Linked DNA regions of Homo sapiens: all the other regions are linked to region 1. Evidence: promoter capture Hi-C in 16 types of primary human blood cells and fetal thymus (Javierre and others, 2016). All regions are on one chromosome and are shown on one strand. The core of a region is centred on a gene start or on the middle of the fragment in contact, and the rest is flanking DNA. Distances in the headings are between cores, read along the strand shown.

Region 1 (2,700 bases), core at 187-2,686:
CGGCTTTCCCAAGTTGCCAGGTTCTTTGTTCAACATTTTATCCTAAAGGAGCTTCCTTAGCCTTTAATGTTTCCCGTCCCGCTTTGACACCAATAATTTCAACCCACCCTAACATATCTGCAGCGATGCCAGACGAGATGCCTATTCTCTAAAGTGTATGGAAAATGGACACCGGTAAGTCAATGTCACCCAGGATCCGTACAACTGCAGTAAGAGGGACGGTTAATTCACAGCTTCCAGCTCTTGGCGCCAGAGTCCGATGCACTCCTGCAGATAACGGTCATTTCCATTCCGGGAGAACCTCTTCGAAAAACAACCCGGATGAGACTATCTGGCAAATTGCAGCCCTTGGCGGGCTTTTCAAATAGAGCGTTGACCAATCAAAGAAGGGGGACGTTACAGGCACTGAAAGAATAACCCGGCCGCGCGCGATGGCTCACGCCTGATATCCCAACATTTTGGGAGGCCGAGATGGGTGGATCACGAAGTCAGGAGTTCGAGACTAGCCTGGTCAAGACGGTAAAACTCCGTCTCTACTAAAAATGCAATAATTAGTCGGGCACGGTGGCGGGCGCCTGTAATCCCAGCTACTTAGGAGGCCGAAGCAGAATTGGTTGAACCCGGGAGACGGAGCTTACAGTGAGCCGAGATCGCGGCACTGCACTCTATCCTGGGCGACAGAGCCAAGACTCCATTTAAAAAAAAAAAAAAAAAACAACACAAAAGGAAAGAGTAACCGAAAACCGAAAGCAAACTTGTAATTATAGCTTAAAGCACAACTGCAAGCCTTTTTCCCCAAGGGTATCTAAGAACCCAAGCTAAATTTGTCTGATGGAGCGTCTATACTCACACGCAAAAAGCCTAGGGAGCTTAGCTTACCTTTTCCCGCCGTCTTCCCTCCTAATGGAGGCCGGCCGGAGTCCACCCAAAAGACTACAAGCAAAATGCACAGGCTCTTTCTCTGGAAGCGTGAGTGGCTCTGAAAAGAGCCTTTGGATTGCTGGCAGCTGCGAGAGCTCACTTGGAGCTGGTGTACTTGGTGACGGCCTTTGTGCCCTCGGACACGGCGTGCTTGGCCAGCTCCCCGGGCAGCAGCAGGCGCACGGCCGTCTGGATCTCCCTGGAGGTGATGGTCGAGCGCTTGTTGTAATGCGCCAGGCGGGAAGCCTCGCCAGCGATGCGCTCAAAGATGTCATTGACGAAGGAGTTCATGATGCCCATGGCCTTCGATGAGATGCCGGTGTCGGGGTGGACTTGCTTCAGCACCTTGTACACGTAGATAGAGTAACTCTCTTTGCGGCTGCGCTTGCGCTTCTTGCCGTCCTTTTTCTGGGCCTTGGTTACGGCTTTCTTGGAGCCCTTTTTGGGGGCAGGAGCAGATTTAGCCGGGTCGGGCATGGCGGAGGAGAGTGAAAGAGCACTCAAATAACAAGAATGAGGACAAGCTGGGTTATGCCCTATTTATTTACAAGTCTATATGCAGATGAGATTGAGAAATTCTTCTGTCTGATTGGAAGTTACTCAGATGACGTTAATATCAATATAGTCCAATCAAAACACGTATATTCAGAAAGCTCATTTGCATTAAGAGGAAGCTGCAAGCTTAGCCAATGGCCCAGCTTCTTTTTCGCGCCCAGCAGCTGCTATAAAATGCGCGTCCCTGTAGGTTCCTTTCACTCACTTTCTGACTTAGGCCACAGGTCGTTTTACCATGTCTGGACGTGGCAAGCAGGGCGGCAAGGCTCGCGCCAAGGCCAAAACCCGCTCCTCTAGAGCTGGGCTCCAATTTCCTGTAGGACGAGTGCACCGCCTGCTCCGCAAGGGCAACTACGCTGAGCGGGTCGGGGCCGGCGCGCCGGTTTACCTGGCGGCGGTGCTGGAGTACCTAACTGCCGAGATCCTGGAGCTGGCGGGCAACGCAGCCCGCGACAACAAAAAGACCCGCATCATCCCGCGCCACTTGCAGCTGGCCATCCGCAACGACGAGGAGCTCAACAAGCTGCTTGGTAAAGTTACCATCGCTCAGGGCGGTGTTCTGCCTAACATCCAGGCCGTACTGCTCCCCAAGAAGACTGAGAGCCACCACAAAGCTAAGGGCAAGTAAGGGCTGAACTTTAAAAATGTAAACTTACAAGACAAAAGGCTCTTTTCAGAGCCACCCACCATTTCTACGGAAGAACTGAGCACTCTGTTCTCCAAACCTATCAGAAATTTGTGGCCGAGTTCAAGCACTGAGGCCATTACTTTCCTATTGGGTAAAATAAAAGTATTGAATCAGGCCTAGTAAATACTATCCAACTGCTACCTTATAACATGAAGGAACCTCCTTAATTGTCCCCTCCCCACAAACTGTCCTGGGTCTTTAAAAAACTTGGGGCCGGGCGCGGTGGTTTATGCGTCCTTAGCATTTTGGGAAACTGAGGCAGGTGGGTGGGGAGGGGAGAAATCTCTAGGGACCTGGAGTTCGAGACCACCCTGATAACGAGACCCCTGCCTCTTAAAAAAAAAATGACTGGGCGCGGTGGCTCACGCCTGTAATCCCAGCACTTTGGGAGGCCGAGGAGGGTGTATCACAAGGTCAAGAGATCGAGACCACCCAGGCAAACATGGTGAAACCCTGTCCCTACTAAAAACACAAAAATTAGCCGGGCGTGGTGGCGAGCGCTACTAAGGAGACAGGCAGGAGAATCGCTTGAACCC
Region 2 (2,700 bases), core at 39-2,538, 1.2 Mb after region 1:
CCAATGTATCCTGAAAGAAAAGGTTGAACAGTTCAATTCTACACATATTCAGACCTTGTTATATGCAGTGCAGAGATCAGAATCCAACTTGCTTAATTTTTATTCCAATAATTTTACACAATACACTCACCACTATTGAGGTAGCCATAAGTATAGTGACTGCAAGCACAGAATCTGGCATCAGACTGTTCACATTACAGCTTCATCAGTAATATGTGATCCTGGGCAAGCTACTTAATCTCTCTGTGCACCAGTTTCCTCCTAAAAGAATACATATCTCACACGATTTTTGTTACAACTGAATGAGACAATAGTGTAAAGTTATTAGAACAGTGTTTGATACATGCTACACACTCAAAATGTTATTATTCAAAATATTAAGACAACCCTGAGTGGAATATTTTGACCTTGAAAGTTTCATTAAAAATAAACATGAAAGTAGAATAAGCTGTAGACCCTCTGCGGAAGAATTCCACTAGTAGGAACATGATTAGTTAATACTGAATACGTGTCTCAGAGACTGCGCTCCCCAATTACTAAACCTCAGCAACTGGCTCACAATCCAAGTCCTTGGCCAGGCTGCCCAGGGTTTAGTTTTCCATATTCCTACTACTCATCTTTTCCCTTTGATAGCTGAGGACATTTAAAAACTGTTTTTTGTTGGTTTGTTTTTTTTAATTTAACAATTGAGCTGGGAGAATACCCAGTGTTCAACCTAAAGAACTGAGTTCTGTTCCAGCCCCACCACTAGGTGATTTACTCTTAGCTGATTCCAAATCAGAAACATAATCAGCAAGGACTGGGGAACCTCCCACAGTACTTTCTCTCGCTGCTGTTTTCTCCACCCACACAAGTCCACCACTTTTAAAAGCATTTCTTCCATCTCGCTGGCCACATCTTCGTGGATGACAGCGCTGCCACTGTGCTTCAGAATCCTCTATCTCTCCCAGATCTTTCCTGGTGTTTCTCTCAGGGTCAGTGGCATCTAATCTTTGTGACTCTACTCCTGGTTTGAGTCCTCGGTTAACAGCCTTGGGGAAACTGTAACATAAACTGCAACGCTGTTGGTGCCGTTTCTTCTTAGACAGGGTGGCAGCGATCGCCTCCCCCCGCAGCCGGCCTTCCACTGCGCCAGCAAGACCCCCTCCCACCAAAACGCCGAGGGCTCCCAGAGCGCAGGCGCCCCGGGCCCCGCCCCTTTCCGAAGACTCGGCTCCTATTGGCCCAGGGGCCGGGGTTGGAACGCCCTAGTGGCCGGAGAGGGGTGATCATGTGACTTGCGGGGGTGGGGCTGCGCCGGCCTCTTCCCAGCCAGCTTGAAAGGGTTTGCGTAGCCGGCCTTGTGGGCCCTTGAAGCGCTCTGTTAAAGCGCTCTGTGGGCGGCCTGGCCCCAACTCCTCTAGTCTAGGCGCACGAAGGGAGTTGCTCCTAGGTCTTGTCCGTGCCGGGTTCGCTTTTCTTTCCTTCCCGAAGCCTGGCCCTTAGATCTACTATCGCAGAGTCTGCGGCCGCCAGGAAGCCCAGATTCGAGTGTCCGGAGAGTAACCGGAAGTGCTGTCCCCAGGCCTAGGGGCGGCGCCGGCGGCTGCCAGGGTAAGCGCGGCCTGCGGGGCCCAGGGGTGGGATGGGTGCGCGGTGGGACCCAAGACCCACGGCCACAGTCGAGTGGGAGCAGCCCCTGTTCCTGGACACTGAGCATGGTCTGGTCTCCGCTGACGGCGGACGGAGGACTGAAAGATGGTCAATGAAAAGTTGAAAGAAGAGAACCTTAGTACGGTAGTTCCTAGAGATAGTAAACACTGCAAGGCACTTTTCAAAGCAATATAATCTTTCATATATATCGAGGAAAAAAAGGACCTTGAATGGATTTTTCGCTTCATCTTCAGTGCAGAAATTAGTTATGTTGCAGTTGAATCTATCTGCAGAAAAATCTGGTTTGTTTAATCTTCCTATAACCATTTCTTTTTGGAAAATGGAATTACAGATAACTTTATATTATATACACTTATCACATGCACTTTGGGGTTTGTAGTGGTAGACGAATGGGTCTTTGATCTTAGGAGTTGAGATAATACAAACAAAAACAATTAGCAGAAGGAGAAAAAACAAACGAAAAACGAGGCTTAGGGCTTTGTTATGAAGTTACAGTTAGTAATAGAAAGATTCTTGACATTTTGTCTAGAGCTGGTCGGAACTGATGGCTACCAGTGGCAGGTACTTCCTGCAGGAGAAACAGTGTAAGCAAAGATGGGAAGAGGTAAGCTATGGTTGAAGGATGCTCACTAGAATGGAGAGGAAATGGGACCAGTTTTCTAGGCCAGCTCTAGAAAAATTATGAATTATAAATTTCACAAGGTCATCGTCTACATTATTGATTTTTCCTCTAGGAGAGGCAAGAATTGAGTGTTGTGAATAGTTCTGAACTAGAGACCTTTTGAAACCAAAAGGAAGATGGTCTTGAGTCTTTCTTGTTACGGTAAGTGGTATACCAGGCTCTGTTTCTGTATAAATGTGGATGGGGGTGTGGGGTGGGGCAGGGTGAAAGACAGGAAAGTATGGGAGAAGATATATGGAAAAAGAGAATGCCCCTTTCTTAGCTCCTAAGATAGCAGAGTGATAAAACTGAGCCCTATCCTACCAACTTAAGGCTATTTTCTACTCCTTTTCAACATGCATGCATATTCACATTAGGCTTGCAGT
Region 3 (2,700 bases), core at 155-2,654, 1.4 Mb after region 1:
GAGAAATCTGGGGACCAGTAGCTGTGGCTAGTCGACAGCACCCCTGGGAGCAGTAACTATAAAGTGTGCTTCTGCTTCATGAAGGAAACCCTGAGGAACCTGCCCTGAGCACCCTCTGTCCACCCTGTGCCCTTGAGGGGATTTTCCTCGATTTCCCAATCTAGTGCTGTGCCTGAGTGTACTGTAAACTTGAGCCGTGCAATAGGACACATATCCACTAGCTAGTTCCAACTGAAATGAGCTGTAAGTGTAAAATACACACAGGATTATGAAGATTTAAAATTTCAAAATGTTGACTATCTCATTGGTAATATGGTATATTAACTAAGTATTTAAATATTCGTATTTGATTATTTGGGGCGAAACAAAATATAGTATACAAATTTATTTCATGTTTCTTTTTACTTTTTAAAATAAAAAGTAAAATTTAATTTTTTTTGAAAATTTGCAATTGTACATGCACTCGGCCTTTGTGCCTCACTGTATTCCTTTTGGACAGTGCTGGTATAAATTCAATGAACATGTTCAGAATGAAAGGGTAAGTCAACAACTCCACAGTCCTTCTTTCTTTCCCTTTGCAGACTACAGGGTTGATGTTCCTTTCTGATAGGTGACAGCAGCAAGTGGCACACATCCCTACCTGAGACCAGTGCACACAGGCTGAGGAGGAGGAGGAGGAGGGAGGCTGGCCGGGAGAAGTGCAGGGCAGCAGCTGATTCCATGAGCACCCAGAGCAGGCAGGGACAGGAGGCCTAGGGTTACAGAGGAGAATCAGCCTAGGAGTCTTGGCACCTCAGTGCTGGTCGGGCCCAACCTCTCCCGTCACTCAAGTAGGTCTCATCAGTGCCCCAACTTCAGGGAGTCCCCTGCATCCGAAGGCTCAGGTATGTCCCGAGAGAGGGATTCCTTAAACATTCCATGAAGTAAGCCATCAATGCCAAGATCAAGGGGGCCTTTTTCCGCCCTCCTCGGCTCACTTCTCTGGCCAGAATGCAGTTTCTTCAGTTGTCGCTGGATTCTACCACACCCTCCTCCCTTCACTTCCTCCTCCCCGCGACCCAGGCCGGGCAGCCTGAGGCAAAGACAGGCGAGGCCGCGCCTCCCCACCGGTGGGCTTTCCCTGTCCCAGGACCCCGTCTCGTGTCCACAGCAGACCCCGCTTCCCCCACCTACTGTGCCCACCCCGGAGCTGTAGCGCCTCCCCTCCGTTTCCTACCTTCTAGAATTAAACGTTGCTTTTTCTTTTCTCCGCTGGTTCTCGACGATTCTCCAGTCGTCCCTCTTCTCTCCAATCTGCCCAGGGGCACAGGCACTACTAGACACAAACCTTCCCAAAAGAGGAGAAAAAATTGTTCTTCCCCTTCTCCTAGGTCGCCATGTTTGGAGATGCAGGAAACGAAATCTGGTCTCCTGGGCTTCCACAGTCCCAAGAGTTCCCTAAGTATTTTAGAGCCCAGGATTGGCCGGGTGTGAGTGAACCAGCCAATGGTGTCGAACCTTATTTCTCAGCAGTTGCTGGGTAGAATACACCGAATCACAAATTTCAAGCAGCAAATAACCTTTTGAGATTATCGGGTCTTTTTATTTCCTTTTTCTTTGTTCGAAAGCAAGACTCTCTCTCTCTCTCTTTCTCTCTCAAGACTCTCTCTCTCTCTCTCGCTTTGAGATTCCTTGGGGAGATTCCCTGGGGTTTGTCACTGAGGTCGGTGGCTTTGCTGGTGTCCACAAGGAGAGGCCTCTCTATGTAGAGGGCAATTTTGCTGGGGAGGAAACATGAGCAGGAAAACGTAAGCCGCCCCCTTTCCAAAGCCAGAGGACTCCTGTTCAAGTTGCTGGCTTTGGAGGTTGGGCCTGGAGCGCAGGAGGGCTTGGGGGAAGCTGGCATGGCTGGAGCGGGAGGGGTAGCAAAGGAAAGGAGACAGCAGTTGCAGTGGCTGTTATGAAGGCCTTGCCATTCATTCCAAAGCTATCGGATAAGAGGTGCTGAGAATCCTGACTGAGGATCAAAAACCTTTTCCCTCAGGGAGGTGGCATTCTGGTGGTGGCAGAAGATGGAATTGAGCAAAACTTTCTAGTTGTCCTTCACCTTCTAGATAGTAGGTGGTCAGGTTGGGTCCAAGAGCCACACACAGACACACACACTAGCACACATACCATCCTCCCGTAAACATCATCCCTCTCCCAAAGGCTCCAATCTTGTAATTGTAAAGATATCTTCCAGAATAATCTTCCCGAGGCCCAGTTGTCAATATTCCCCTCAAGTGTCTAAATGCTTAGTCTGGAGGCCTCCAATTCCCTTCTGATTCAATTCAAAACTTTGCAGTTAATACGCTAGCAATGGCTCCACAGTGGCCTTGCATCACAACGTTGCACTCCCTGTGGCCAGTGCTCCTTTTCCCATGCCATGGCTTTCATTTCAATTGCTTGCTCCATCTCTGCCCCGTGAAATCCTGCCCAGCCTTCGTGCCTACTTCCTCCAAGAACAACTCTGAATGTTCCTGCCTGAAGTGTTCTCGGCCTCTTCTGACACCCAAATCTTTTGCTGTTCCCACGTCCTGTCTTGTATTATTGTTACTCAGGTATCCACTGTGTCTCTGCTGTGACAGGAGTACCTGCTTCTCAGGACAGACTTCTGCAGGATGTGATTCCTCTCACCTTACAGGGCCCAGCTCTAAGCTCTAAGCTCTGCTCTTAGCTGTT

Evidence for each region. Contacts are between HindIII fragments. The CHiCAGO score rates a contact against its expected background, and 5 or more counts as called.
Region 2: the fragment with the promoter of ZNF322 here is called in contact with the fragment with the promoter of H2BC17 in region 1 in 2 of 17 cell types (neutrophils and monocytes); the score reaches 8.0 in neutrophils.
Region 3: a contact is called between the fragment with the promoter of BTN2A1 here and the fragment with the promoter of H2BC17 in region 1, in 1 of 17 cell types (neutrophils). The highest score is 5.3, in neutrophils.

The regions. Positions count from the first base shown.
Region 1 is chr6:27,892,161-27,894,860 of GRCh38, reverse strand. H2BC17 (H2B clustered histone 17) reads right to left here and starts at 1,436. Exons shown (of 1, transcript NM_003527.4): 1 at 970-1,436. The coding sequence starts at 1,398. The coding sequence ends at 1,018. It overlaps H2AC17 (H2A clustered histone 17), which reads left to right and starts at 1,676. Exons shown (of 1, transcript NM_003514.2): 1 at 1,676-2,162. The coding sequence starts at 1,712. The coding sequence ends at 2,104. RefSeq lists enhancers at 673-812, 1,203-1,442, 1,463-2,006, 2,353-2,402, 2,007-2,550. The HindIII fragment of the contact is 3,889 bases long and covers 1-1,604 here.
Region 2 is chr6:26,658,334-26,661,033 of GRCh38, reverse strand. It overlaps ZNF322 (zinc finger protein 322), which reads left to right and starts at 1,288. Exons shown (of 4, transcript NM_024639.5): 1 at 1,288-1,593; 2 at 2,388-2,476. RefSeq lists enhancers at 878-1,077, 1,098-1,157, 857-1,357, 1,388-1,577, 1,588-1,637 and 1 more. The HindIII fragment of the contact is 5,113 bases long and covers 1-2,700 here.
Region 3 is chr6:26,456,659-26,459,358 of GRCh38, reverse strand. It overlaps BTN2A1 (butyrophilin subfamily 2 member A1), which reads right to left and starts at 1,404. Exons shown (of 8, transcript NM_007049.5): 1 at 1,217-1,404; 2 at 641-752. The coding sequence starts at 722. RefSeq lists enhancers at 1,214-1,373, 1,534-1,793. The HindIII fragment of the contact is 11,033 bases long and covers 1-2,700 here.